Linked DNA regions of Homo sapiens: all the other regions are linked to region 1. Evidence: promoter capture Hi-C in 16 types of primary human blood cells and fetal thymus (Javierre and others, 2016). All regions are on one chromosome and are shown on one strand. The core of a region is centred on a gene start or on the middle of the fragment in contact, and the rest is flanking DNA. Distances in the headings are between cores, read along the strand shown.

Evidence for each region. Contacts are between HindIII fragments. The CHiCAGO score rates a contact against its expected background, and 5 or more counts as called.
Region 2: a fragment that was not itself captured here is called in contact with the fragment with the promoter of FTX in region 1 in 3 of 17 cell types (fetal thymus, total B cells and activated CD4 T cells); the score reaches 11.9 in fetal thymus.
Region 3: a fragment that was not itself captured here is called in contact with the fragment with the promoter of FTX in region 1 in 1 of 17 cell types (neutrophils); the score reaches 5.9 in neutrophils.

What each region holds. Positions count from the first base shown.
Region 1 is chrX:74,291,016-74,295,577 of GRCh38, reverse strand. It overlaps FTX (FTX transcript, XIST regulator), which reads left to right and starts at 2,004. Exons shown (of 7, transcript NR_028379.1): 1 at 2,004-2,226. LOC124905199 (a long non-coding RNA gene) reads left to right here and starts at 2,982. Exons shown (of 2, transcript XR_007068266.1): 1 at 2,982-3,820. RefSeq lists enhancers at 2,750-3,540, 4,332-4,562. The HindIII fragment of the contact is 8,135 bases long and covers 1-2,909 here.
Region 2 is chrX:70,129,965-70,134,526 of GRCh38, reverse strand. IGBP1 (immunoglobulin binding protein 1) reads right to left here and starts at 1,080. Exons shown (of 7, transcript NM_001551.3): 1 at 987-1,080; 2 at 392-804; 3 at 1-4. The coding sequence starts at 579. RefSeq lists an enhancer at 202-661. The HindIII fragment of the contact is 408 bases long and covers 2,062-2,469 here.
Region 3 is chrX:77,901,154-77,905,715 of GRCh38, reverse strand. It overlaps COX7B (cytochrome c oxidase subunit 7B), which reads right to left. Exons shown (of 3, transcript NM_001866.3): 2 at 2,949-3,073; 3 at 1-532. The coding sequence ends at 455. Among named protein-coding and RNA genes, the nearest start is that of COX7B, 4.0 kb to the right of the region's middle. The HindIII fragment of the contact is 3,945 bases long and covers 299-4,243 here.

The sequences.
Region 1 (4,562 bases), core at 755-3,254:
TAAAGGGAGGTGTTTGAGTCATGGGGGCACCACTCTTATGAATAGCTTAATGCTATTATTGAGGGAGTGGGTTTGTTATTTCAGTAGTGGGTTCCTTATTAAAGGATGAGTTCTGGCCCCCTCTTGCGCGCACTCTCTCTTTCTCTATCTCTTTGCCCTTCCACCATGGGATGATGTAGCAGGAAAGCCACTGTCAGATGCCAGCTCCTCAGTCTTGGACTTCCCATTCTCCAGAACTGTGAGGAAATAAATTTCTGTTCTTTATAAATTGCCGAGTCTGCAGTATTTTGTTACAGTGGTACATAATGGACTAAGACAATACTAATGGGTATGAAGTTTCTTTTTGGGGTGATGAAAATATTCTAAAATTGATTGTAGTGGTGGCTGCATAATTCTGTGAATATACTAAAATCCATTGCATTGTACACTTTAAGTTGGTTAACTGTATGATATGTAAATTATATATTAATAAAACCATTAAAACAGAAAAATAACAGAGATAAGAGCATTTGTTAAAATAGTGTTGTAGAATTTGGGGTAAAATTTCTTATATTTTAACTTTTGTGTAATAATAAATGATTATTTTAATTTAGAAGAGGTTCTTTGTACCACTGAGATTTCGGCATTTCTTTTTTATTTAATGCATGCCTATTTCTCTTTTTTCTTCTTCATATGCACATTGTTGTATAATTTTTTGGGCGTATTATATAACAAATGCAAACCCATTTTTCTCTGAATAATGTTGATATAACATTCTTAAGTTAATTTGAGAGGATGGTGATGTATAAGTTTATGAGTTTTAGGATTTATGAATTTGCGGGTCTCAGTTTTTGGTATTTCCAAACTGGCTCTTTTAGAAAGCAATAAGAACCAGACACCAAAGTAAAACATAATAAAGAGAAACAAAATATTATTTTGTATTCTTTCTAGTTCACACCCAAAGAGGGATCTATTTCAGAGCCTCTTAAGTAAATAATGCCATTTCCCTCAAAATTAATATTTGAGTTCTTACAGAAGACAAGAACAGGCCTTGTAGTAAGCAGTGAAGGACATTGAATCTCATTTTTAATGTCCAGACAATACCAGGGTTGTGAATAGAAAGAAAAGAGCTTTCCATGTTGGTGGTCTACTGCCTCTTACCCCCAAATTGATTGAACACTTTTGCAGTTTTTGTTCTGGTTCCCTGTCTCTGGATCTTCCCTGTGGGTCATCATCAAAAAGGTGTTCTCTTTGCCCAAGACAGGCTGGTTGAGCTCACCCTGAGAGCTGCTTTGGAGAGGATGTGTGGAAATATTTTTTTTCTTTTTTTGAGATGGGGTCTCACTCTGTTGCCCAGGCTGGCAACATCATAGCTGGCACAATCATAGCTCACTGTAGCCTCGACTTCCTGGGCTCGAGTGATTCTTCCACCTCAGCCTTCTGAATAGCTGGGAGTACAGGTGCGCACCACCACGCCCGGCTAATTTTTGTATTTATTTGTAGAGACGGGGTTTCGCCATGTCACCCGAGCTGGTCTCGAACTCCTGAACTCAAGGGTTCCGTCCACCTCGGCCTCCCAAAGTGCTGGGATTACAGGTGTGAGCCACCGCGCCCGGGCTACAATTATTTAAAAAAAAATTTTTGCGGTAATTTTTACAAATTTCAACATCAGGCATAGGAGGAGAGGAGTAAGAGGCCCAAGAGGGCTGCAGACTGGCAGGGAAAGTGAAGAATTGAAGGGTAGACCACTAACGATAGCAGAGGAAATAAAGGTAGATGGTGGGCTAAGAATAATGGGAGAGGGATTGACGAAAGAAGTATGGGCTGAGGGAGGGATGATGGTGGAGGCCAGTGTGACCGAGGGGAGGGGAAAGGTGGAAGAAGCAGAGTGGGATAGCGTCCTGGGAAAGAAGTGAAGGAGGTCGGTGGACCGCTAAGGGTTAGACTCCTAGAGGCTGGAGAGCGGCGCGTGGGGGAGGCGGGGCGCGGAGGGGGGGTTAAGGGGCGTTAGCAGCGCATGCGCTGGAAGCACACTGCGGCGATTCTGGAGAGGTTGTCCTTTTCTGGCATCAGCGTTGCGGCTCGAGGCAAAGCTGGTCCTGTGCCTGCTGTCCATTGCCGCTAAGGCCTGCTGCTGCCATTCAGGCGTGTCTCTCTCTCTCTCTCTCTTTCATGCCGCTCTCTCCACCCCATCTTGGGACGGCCAGCTCTAAGAATTCCTGCTACGACACTGAATTCAACCAGGAGGTAAAGGAACGATGTAGGGGAAGAACAGAACATGGAGGGCGGCGGAGGGAACTTGGGCCAGGAAGATCCTTAATTTGTGCATTTTTCCAGTTCACGGGAGGAAAAAATGGAATACGTTACAGGCCCCAGTTTTCCAAAAGGATGTTGAGCATTTGCTTCCCATTGTGAAAGGAATGCGGGTTCCTTTCCTCTAACTAGAGTCAAGGCACCTGAGCATCGGTGTTTTCCATAATGTTCCCTGTTTAAAACATTTGTGGTTCGTCATTTGTAGCAGATGTATTTAAAGGGCGAGGCCTTAGGATTATGTTCATCCGATGGTTTGTGAAAGTTTTCCTTGCCTTTGTTCAGGTTGACCGGTCTTATGTGAATCCTGGGGTACTCTAGCCCCCTCCCTTGGAGTTGGGACCGATTCCATCTAGATCTGGGATTCACTCTGATCACCTGCAACGCCTTCTTTCCCCGATTCAACTTCCCTAGTTTATCGCATCTACTCGCATTAGGGAAGGCTGGTAATGGCTCTCCTTGGGCACTGGGGCAGAATTGTGGCGAGAAACACGTCCAGATAGCATCAGGCATGCATACTGTATACAAATGGGAGCAAGAAGAGAGAGGACTATCGCGGTGCGCAGGGTATTTGAGAGGCTGGATGAGGAGGCGCGGCGCCGAGGGGCGGCGCTCAAGCTTACAGTATTTGAGAAGACCTGAGTTAAGGGGACGGGCTCCAGTGGGGCGGGGGTGGGGAGAGGGAGGCACGCATGCGCAAGGCTTGAATGGCGTCGGGGTTGGAGGGTTGGAAGGTCGGGAAGTGAAGGACTCGCAGGCATATTTAACAACGCAAAGTTGCTAGGAGTTGGTACCAGCGTTTGGGAGGTAGAGGTGGCGCTCATGCATATTTGAGACAACATCTGGATGGTTGGGGAGAACGGTAAGGAGGAAGCGGCGCGCATGCGTATTTCAGACGGAGTGCCGGGGAGGGGAGGCGCTCAGCATTCGGGTAATTAAGGTTGCAAAATGGCGAGGGGGGAGGTAAGCTGTCTTTGCTTGGCCATCTTGGGCTAGCAGGCCTTGCAGAGAACTACCTTTTTAGCTGAGTGAAGGGATCAACCTGAGTTGGAGTTCTCCTATGCTGTGGCCAGATCCACTAGAAATTAACCCAGAATCTTAGCCTCTCAGTGGCCTATCGGTAAGTGGGTACAAAAATGAGGAGGCGATGATGACTCTGCAAAAGGTTGCGGCAGCTGGCGGTGCGTAGGAAATGCGTAAAAAGGGAGCACTTGGAGACAGGCCACATTTGGGCAGTACGCATTCGGAGGGCTCTCTGGCTTTCCGATCTTGGGTCGCTGTACTTGGCTCTGAATACAGTCACCCCATCAGAGTAGCAAAACACTGTGGTTGTAGTGTGAGAATCCAATGTTAATGTTGGCCGAAAGCTCTTGATTTTCTTCCCTGAGAACATAGGCGTGAGGATTTGGATGTGTTTCCAAATGCTTGTTACTCTTTGCCGTAAACCTGGAATTTGGACCTATGGCTGCCTGGGACTCATACTGTCGTGGAGAAAGATTGAAAAGTAGTTAATGGCAGTGGTGGTATGAAGGTAACCTGGGCTTTCACCCTTTCCTTTATTTTTTCTTCTGTAGAACTTTCAGCACGGTTTTGTCAAGGGAGAAGATTAGAGTTTCTATTTTAAAGGCAGATGTACTGTCATGACTCTCTGAAGACTTGCTGTTAATCGCTAAAACTAGTAAGTTAGCACTTAGATACAGACATAGTTAGAAGGAGCACAGGATTAAAAACTGAAAAAAACATCTTTTCCCAGTAATCCTAGCTATTATTTCATGGTGGTCCTTTTCCTTCTCTGGGCCTATTTCTCTCTCTCGCTCATTTATTTATTTACTTTTAGACAGAGTCTTGCTCCGTCGCCCAGGCTGGAGTGCGGTGGCGCGATCTCAATTCACTACAACCTCCGCCTCCCGGGTTCAAGCGATTCTGATATCTCAGCCTCCCAAGTAGTAGCTGGGGTTACAGGTGCGCGCACGCCCGGCTAATTTTTGTGTTTTTAGTAGAGACGGGGTTTTGCCATGTTGGCCAGGCTGGTCTCGAACTCCCGGCCTCATGTGATCCGCCCGCCTTGGCCTCCCAAAGTGCTGGGATTACAAGCGTGAGCCACCACGCCCGGCTGCTGGGCCTATTTCTCTATCTGTAATAATGATTAAACGTCAATAGCACTTACTACGTTCGAGGTTCTGGTCTGCGTGCTTTTACATAGGCCGTAACTCATTTGGTACTCTCGACAATCTTACGAAACACAGTACTGTTATTAAGTTTATACAAATGAG
Region 2 (4,562 bases), core at 1,016-3,515, 4.2 Mb after region 1:
TCGGCTGGAAGAGCAAAAAGGAGGCAGTGAAGCCTGACTAGGCATTCAAATTGTGGCCCTTGCTTTCTGGGGGACGGAGTGGGAGGCTGGGCTGGGAGTGGACCAGAGGGAGGAGGCACGGGGAACAGCGGCCAGTTTCACTCAATGAAAGTGGCTGAGGGCTCACACCCAATGCCTATGCAATCAGCAGACGCTAGGAAGCAGAGTCGTAAGATATCAACCATCTGGGAAGAGAGGTGGGGAATGTAAACAATGTACACAAGATCGCAGTGGTAAGTAGGAACGAAACGTTCTCACCACTAAAGGTCCCCTCCACTCAGGCGCAATGGCTCCACCCTTGGTAACCATTATTACCTTCGTTCTCAGCCATTATTACTATCTTCCCCCATACCTGAACAAGTCGAGCTGCGATAACATTTCGGCAGCCTTCTCAAGGAGGTCCAAGCCCTTGAACACCTTCTCCTGGACTATCCGGGAACCGGCGGGTTCAGTCGCCACTTCTACTTCGTCCAGTAACTGTCTACCAGTTTCGAACAGCTCGGGGAGCCGCGGCAGCTGTAACTCGTCCTCAGCAGCCATCTTGGGGAGAGAGGAACCCGGAAGATCTCTTTTCCGGGGTCAAAGGCAACCTTGATAAAGAAGAATTAGGCGAGCGCGGACAAAACCGGAAGAAGCACCTCATTGGTCCAGTAGCTTCACTGTTAACAAAGCATCAAAGGACTTCCGGGAGCCGCTGTTAGCCGGCCCTGGCAACCGTTTCCATAGACTCATTTTACCAGGCAGCCCGTTACAAGTCGTAGGCATCTGTTAAAAGCAAACAAACAAGCAAAACCCTAGGCGCTGTTTTACCATGAGCTCCTCGTCGCCGACACGGGGCTGAGAAGTTCTGTGGGCTCTGAAGCCCGGGTGAGGCGAGGCTGAATTCGGAGCGCGAGGAGTGCGGACGAGCGAGTGCGTTTTAGGAGCCAGTCTGGCGCGCCCCTTACCTCGCGAGTAGCTCCCTAGGTTGAGGAGTCCAGGGACTCTAGCCGCCGCACCACTCCCACGGTTTGAAGATCCGGTCGCTTGAGCGCGAAGTGCAAGTAGCGCCCCCCTGCGGTTTCCGTCCACCCACCAGATGGAGCTCCGGGTTCCTCCCAGCCAATCCTCTCCCGTCCTCTTCCCCCTTCACCCCACACACGCCTACGACCCGTAGGCCGGCGTCCGGTGGAGCCCCCCTCAGCAAGATTGGCAACCTGCAACTCCGGTCACCGCACAGCCGGCTTCCCTTCGTGCACTTAGTTCCTACATCAAATGTTATTTCTGTGCAACCTTCCTTGTCTCTCTACCGCCTTCCACCCTGTGCCCTTCAGCCGCCAAGTCTGGGTTTCTCCTATGCATCTCTATCATGGCACCTACCACGCTGTATAATTGCTAGTGACTTACAAATCTCTCTTATCAGAATGAATTTGACTCATCTTTGCACCACTCTGGCTAGCCTGAGTACTCAGTATCAGTCATTATCTGAATAAAAAAAAAAAGTGATCAGTTTGGAAAGCAGCCAACTTATGCAGAACAGCATTGTTCAGTAGGTAGTTACTAGCTACATGTGGTTACTAAGCACTTGAAAGTGGCTATTTTGAATCGAGATGTGCTGCAAGTGTAAAAAACACCCCAGATTTCAAAGACATTTAAAAAAAAAAGAATGAAAAATGTAAATACTTTTTACATGGACTACATGTTGAAATGATAGTCTTTTGGATATGTTGGATTAAATATATTATTAGAATTAATTGTACTTCTTTCTTTTCACTTTGTAAATGTGCCTGCCAGATAATTTAAAACTATATTTGTAGCTCCCATTATATTTCTACTGGACAGAACTGATGGAAAACATAATTTCAGGACTTCAAAGAAGGGACGTCATTGTTTTGAACAAAGCAATATAAATACATACTGATTACCTTAGGACGCAGCCTGAATTGTCCTAGGAGATTTAAGTAGCAGGCACACTGTCTACCCCTGAAAATAAACTTTTAAACTAGTATTTTAAACTACATATCGTTGAGAAGAAAAAAAGCTTCATTAAAAAACAACTAGAGGGCAATATAGGACAGTATAAAATAGGTGATATGTTGTATTGCACAGGCTGTTGGAAAAGCAAGAAAGGGCAAGTCATCCCATGCTAGGAGTAGTTCAGAAGGCTTCTTAGACATGACATGCGGTCACATAGAAGAATGTCAAAGTTTAAAGGGAACCCCCAAAATCGGAGGAAAAACTTGAGACCAGAAAGGTTAAGGGACTTGTCCAGCCAGTTTGTGACAAAGTCAGTGACTTCTGCGTTCAATTGTTTCTACTCCATTAACCTTCAGTTGGGTAGGATTTAGAAAGATGAAGACCTTTAATGTGGGACAGATTGAAGCCCCAAACTAGAACAGTGCTTCCTAAGAGGGAGAGGAGGCTGTGGCACACATGTAGGTTGAAAAAGCTTCCCAGGTGATTCTAATAAACCTTCCCTTGCAACCCCTGCTTTATAAACTAAGAAGGAAGTGAGGCTTTGGCGAATTACCTATTTGGTTTATCTGGCACCTCTAGTAAACTGACCTTTCAGGGTCAGGCTTGGCAGGGAATATAAAGAAAAAGATAGTACTTGTGGAGGAGACTTAGAAATGTAGTAATTGTGAGAGTAAAGATAATTTGCTTCTCTGCATTTGCTTGGATTAAAACATGTCTTTACTGTTACTTAAGAGGAAAAAAATGTGCACAGTCTTAATTTGGTCTTAAACTTTGTAAGTCATTTTTTATGGCTTTCAAAATTAGTCTTTTTTTTTTTTTTTTTTTGAGACAGGGTCTCACTCTGCCACCCAGGCTGGAGTGCTGGAATGCATTGGCACGATCTTAGCTCACTGCAAACTCCGCCTCCTGGACTCAAGTGATCCTCTACCCTCAAGCCCCCCAATTAGCTGGGACTACAGGTGCAAGTCACCACTCCTGGCTAATTTTTGTATTTTTTTGTAGAGGCGGGGTTTCGCCATGTTGCCCAGGCTGATCTCAAACTCCTGAGGTCAAGTGATCCACCCGCTTCACCGTCCCAAAGTGTTGGGATTACAGACGTGATTCAGTGTGCCCAGCCAAAATGACGGTCTTTATGGGAGATGCCAATTACTTTCAGAGTGCCTGTTATATATTAGAGTTGTCATTTTAAGCATTGCATTTCATCTTATTCTGAAAGAATACCAAGATTAAAAAGTGGTTAGAAAAAAAGGAATAATGGCCGGGCGTGGTGGCTCATGCCTGTGATCCCAGCACTTTGGGAGGCCGAGGTGGGCAGCTCACCTGAGGTCAGGAGTTCAAGACCAGCCTGGCCAACATGGTGAAACCCTGTCTCTACTAAACATACAAAAATTAGCTGGGCATGGTGGCGCGGGCCTGTAACCCCAGCTACTCCGGAGGCTGAGGCAGTGAGCCGGGAGGCAGAGGCTGCAGCGAGCCGAGATCACACCACTGCACTCCAGCCTGGGCGACAGAGCGAGACTCTGTCTCACAAAAAAGAAAGAAAAAAAGGAATAATAAAAACGAGTCGTTTGCTGTGTTTTGTGTGTAAACACTTTATCATATTAAACTCCTGTTGTGCATGGGAGACTTTTTAAAATCCTAGTTTAGGGCACTTAACAATCATGAAAGTATAACGGTACTTAAACTTTTTGTAGTAGCATAATTCTTTTTCCAAAACAAGTTTTAGAGAGCCTGTAATTTCTAAAAGGACTGATGTATTTGAAGAGGATACAAAGAAGCCTGCCAACTCAGCCACTGGCCCATCTTCCTCAACCTGCTCAGTGAGTGGCACTCCAGGTGAGGGACTCAAGGGCTCTAAGTAACACAATATAAAAAGCATTAATCTGGCCAGGTGCAGTGGCTCCCGCCTGTAATCCCAACACTTTGGGAGGCTGAGGTGGGAGGATCCCTTTAGCCCAACTCTGCTACTGAATAGCTGTGGGACCTTGGAGAAATTCCTTCCTTTGCTCTTTCCATACATGCTGTGTGCTACCTGAATGCTAGGCATTGAGAATTCGAACACTACCCGAGGTTTAAGCTCTTAAGGGGTCCATAGTTCCACGGAAGAGACAGGTAAACAAATAATCAAATGTTAATTTGATAAATATTTTGATAAAGGTGTGTTCAAGGTGTTAGAGGAATGGAGAGAATAACTTTGGCCCGGAGGGGCATTCTGTTAAAGGTCAAACTCAATAACATGACTTTAAGATCCTTTCTAATCTGCCTGCTGACATCCTTTTCATTTTGTTCCTTCGTGGATCCTAAGCTGAATCTTTAGCAAACTCTCCTAGTTCTCCAAACCTATCATGTTCTCTTAGGCCTTCATGCATTCACATAGGTGGTACCTTCTGCCTGGAATGTCATCTTCCTTGTCTGTGCCTGGCAAATTTCTATTCATTACTCATAACTTGGCTCAAAGATCACTTGCTCTGGGAAGCACTTCCTGATTTTCCCCTGTAGGCGAGGCTACCTCCTTCTTAGCTCTTATAGCATTTGATTCATCCCCCTGTGATAGTACTGTACTGTGG
Region 3 (4,562 bases), core at 1,022-3,521, 3.6 Mb before region 1:
CGCCATTGCATTCCAGCCTGGGCAACAGAGTGAGACTCCGTCTCAAAAAAAAAAAAAATTAGCTGGGCGTCATGGCATGTGCCTGTAGTTCTGGCTACTCGGGAGGCTGAGACAGGAGAATCACTTGAACTCAGGAGGCAGAGGTCGCAGTGAGCTGAGATGGTGCCACTGCACTCCAGCCTGGGGGACAAAGTGAGACTTCGTCCCAAAAAAAAAAAAAAAAAAAAAAAAAAACCTATTTAAGAAGCTGCACAGCATTTGACTTTAATATTAACATAAAGGCTAAAGTGATCAAGCTTAGTTTCATTTACAAAGAAACAAAACCTACAATGAAGGTTTCAAATGTACTTTATTTCTTCAATAATGCCATATCTTAATGGGTACACAGTGCTTTAATTTGGCATCAATTATGAGCTGTTTTTTAAACAATTCATTATTACACCAGCTGGGATGATTACTGATTCCTCCATTCCTTTGGGGTAACTCTGCCAACAGGGGACAGGTTCCATTCTATTCCGACTTGTGTTGCTACCTGTAAGAATTAAAATGCTGTCAGTTACGTGTTTAAACCAGAGTACACTCTCTCGGAGACTATTTCTTGAAAATGACAGATATTCTGTTCTATAGGTTAAAAATACACAGAAACTCACCTGGGATCTAATACCCTCCATATAGGCCAAACCTGATTGCTGTCCTAATTTTCTAGAGCAGTCCTGTTGTTCAATAGAACTTCTTGAGCTGAAGGAAATGTTCTAGATCTTCACTGTTAAAAACAGTAGTCACTAGCTACATGTGGCTACTAGCCACCTGGAATATGACTAGTATCACCAAGGAAATGAATTTTTAAATTTTATTTAATTCAAATTTATACTTCACATTTCTATACTACCCACTCAATACACTGATTCCCTCAACCACAACTACCTAAGTAACTGCCAGAGTATTTTATATTCTCTGTATCACTAAGGAACATTTCACCTCCAAAAGCTCCTCTGATCAAACATTTGTTCAACATCTGTTTATCCTTCTAATTAAGCACACTTTAATTTTTTTTTTGAGACTTTTTTTTTTTTTGAGACAGTCTCGCTTTATCGCCCAGGCTAGAGTACAGTGGCACGATCTCAACTCACTGCAACCTCCACCCCCTCCAACTTCAGGCGATTCTCCTGCCTCAGCCTCCCAAGTAGCTGGGACTACAGGTGCCCACCACCACGCCCGGCTAATTTTTGTATTTTTAGTAGAGATGGGGTTTCACCATGCTAGTACCAAACTCCTGACCTCAGGTGATCCACCCGCCAGGGCCTCCCAAAGTGCTAGGACTACAGGCGTGAGCCACCATGCCCAGCCTAGGCACACATCTTAATATTTGATTTCAGGAAGATCAAAACAAAAACTAAAAAGGCCTATTTATTTAAATAAAGTTTATTACATTAAGGATTAATTTGTATCTTTTTAAACCAACTTATGCATTTATTAAGACTTCGGGCCGGGCGCAGTGGCTCACGCTTGTAATCCCAGCACTTTGGGAGGCCGAGGTGGGTGGATCACGAGGTCAGGAGATCGAGACCATCCTGGCTAACACGGTGAAACCCCATCTCTACTAAAAATACAAAAAATTAGCCGGGCATGGTGGTGGGCACCTGTAGTCCCAGCTACTCGGAAGGCTGAGGCAGGAGGATGGCGTGAACCCGGGAGGCGGAGTTTGCAGTGAGCAGAGATCGCGCCACTGCACTCCAGCCTGGGCGACAGAGCAAGATTCCATCTCAAAAAAAAAAAAAACAAAAAACAAAACAAAAAAAAAAAACACAGACTTCAGGACTCCTACTTTTAGCCAGTAAGTAACAGTGACTGAAAGATAGATTGTTAAATGTAAGATGTAAAGAAACTAAAATATAAAAAGATACATTACATCTCATCTGTCACGAATACTGTGCTAAGTTCTGAGTGTAAAATTTTAAAAGAAAAATTGTTAAGTGAAGTTATGTCCAGGAAGGCGATCCAAGACAGTAAAAATCCTGGAAACCATGAACAAAAAAATTACTGATAGAACTAAGGATGTTTAATTTGAAAAAGAAAATTGAGGAGATATGATAGCAATTTTCTATTATCTGATGGCTGTTATATGGAAGTGGGTCAGAATTTCTGTGCTTCAATGAACAATGGGTAGCATAGGAAAAAGGCAGATTTTAACTCACCATATGATCCTTTTAACAGCTACACAAGGCTGGGCACAGTGGCTCACACCTGTAATCCTAGCACTTTGGGAAACCAAGGCGGGCGGATCACCTGAGGTCAGGAGTTCAAGACCAGCCTAACTAACATGGTGAAACCCCGTCTCTACTAAAAATACAAAAATCTGCCAGGCGTACTGGAGGGCGCCTGTAATCCCGCTACCTGGGAGGCTGAGACAGGAGAATCACTTGAACCCAGGAGGCAGAGGTTGCAGTGAGCCGAGATCGCGCCACTGCACTCCAGCCTGGGCAACAGAGCAAGACTCCGTCTCAAAAAAAAAAAAAAAAAAAAATAGCCAGGCCTGGTGGCACACACCTGTGGTCCCAGCTACTTGGGAGCCTGAGGCAGAAGAAGTGCTTGAACCCAGGAGGCAGAGGTTGCAGTGAGCCAAGATCGCACCACTGCACTCCAGCCTGGGGGACACAGCAAGACTTCTTCTTAAAAAAAAAAAAAAACAAAAACAAAAAAAACAGCTACACAAGATGGAAAGGGCTGCCTTGTGATCCAGTAAGCAATTTATTACTGGGAATGTTAAGAACAGAAGATGGATGAATGCTGGGGGGAAAAAATCCCCTGCACTGTGTGGGTAATTAGATTACACAATCTCTCAAGTCCCTCCTAACTAGATATGTACACTACTATGTTAAGACACTTTGAATGCATAGACTGAGAATGAAAAACATCTGAAACAGAAATTATTAATCAATAGTACTTACATATGTCCATGTAACAATACAGAAAGTGGCTCCACTAGCTAATACAGCATTACCGTATTTGTCATGAAAATCAGGTGTACGTTTCTGGTGGCTCTGCCTTGCCATTGTTTGCTGAATGCTTCGAACTTACAGGAAAACGAAAAAAGAATACAGAAGCATATTATCAATTGTCAGGTAAAGAAAACATATGTGATTGATACTGCCAATCAGGAAAGCCAAGGAAGTTAATTTTACAGTATTATGTAGTTCAATAAAATGTTAAAACATATTGTAGCTATTAAAGCAGTGTACTTTGAAATGCAACAAAAATAAGATGAATTGACAGATGGACAAATACATGATAAAACAAATAGCAAAATGTTAACTGTAGAATCTTTGTGGTGGGTATATGGGTGTTCATACGATTCTTCCAACTCTTCAGTATGTCTGAGAGTTTTCATAATAGTGTTGGGGGAAAAAAGCAAAGAATGAATGATGTCAGTAACATTCTCTACAAAGTGGTATTTGCATAACCCCTGAAATTTTGGCTCCCATTGATTAATTTGAATACTTATGACTTAAATTTTCATTAAAGTTTACTCAATAGAGCCCAACAACTTACAACATACAAGGGCAAATGAACTCAAATGAACTTCAAATTAAAGCACACTAAATGCTTATGACTGTAAAATTACTACAGTAACAAAAAAACTCGCCACAACTAGAGTAATCTTGATTTTTAAAAAATTAATGGGCCAGGCACAGTGGCTCACATCTGTAATCCCAATACTTTCGGAGGCCAAGGTAGGAGGATCGCTTGAGGCCAGGAGTTTCAGACCAGTCTGTGAAACATAGTGAGACCCTGTCTCTACAAAAAAATTGAAAATTAAAAATTAGCCGGGCATGGTGGTGCATGCACACCTGTAGTCCCAGCTACTCAGGAGGCTGTGGCCGGACGATCACTTGAGTCCAGGAGTTAGAGGATGCAGTGAGCTATGATCACACCACTACACTCCAGCCTGGGTAACAGAGCAATTCTCTGTCCCTAAAAATAAAAAATGAGAAATGGGGTATATAAAAAAGTATAAGACAGAGATCCTGTCCTCAAGTAACTTCCAGTCTAGAGGATTACACATGTAGATAAAAATCAGTATCGTACAAGGAAGCAGAATTAGCTAAGGACTTAGTTTTTGAGCAGAATGATAAAGTTTGCTGTTAGTATTATACCAGTAGAAAGAGAAGAACAAAAGTTTTCAAACGGCCCCTGGAAGAACTAAAAAGGAGGGCTTGGGAAACAGCCGAGACTGGAAAAAGCTTGTTTCTAGCTGTTTTTTTTTTTCTTCCTGTCCAATTTAAGGGGCAGGTTCTTATCGTTTTAAAGAGCCTCCAAAGGTACTTACATATATAATGAAAAGCTAGGGAGCCTGAGGCAGGAGAATCACTTGAACCTAGGAGACGGAGATTGCAGTGAACCAAGATTGAGCCACTGCACTCCAGCCTGGGCAACAAGAGCGAAACTTTGTCTCAAAAAAAAAAAAAAGAAACTGCAATGTTGCCCATTCACTAGCAATGAATATTTCTACATGGTACAATGGGTTACTTCATGATAGTTATTAGACCATTATCAGATCTTCT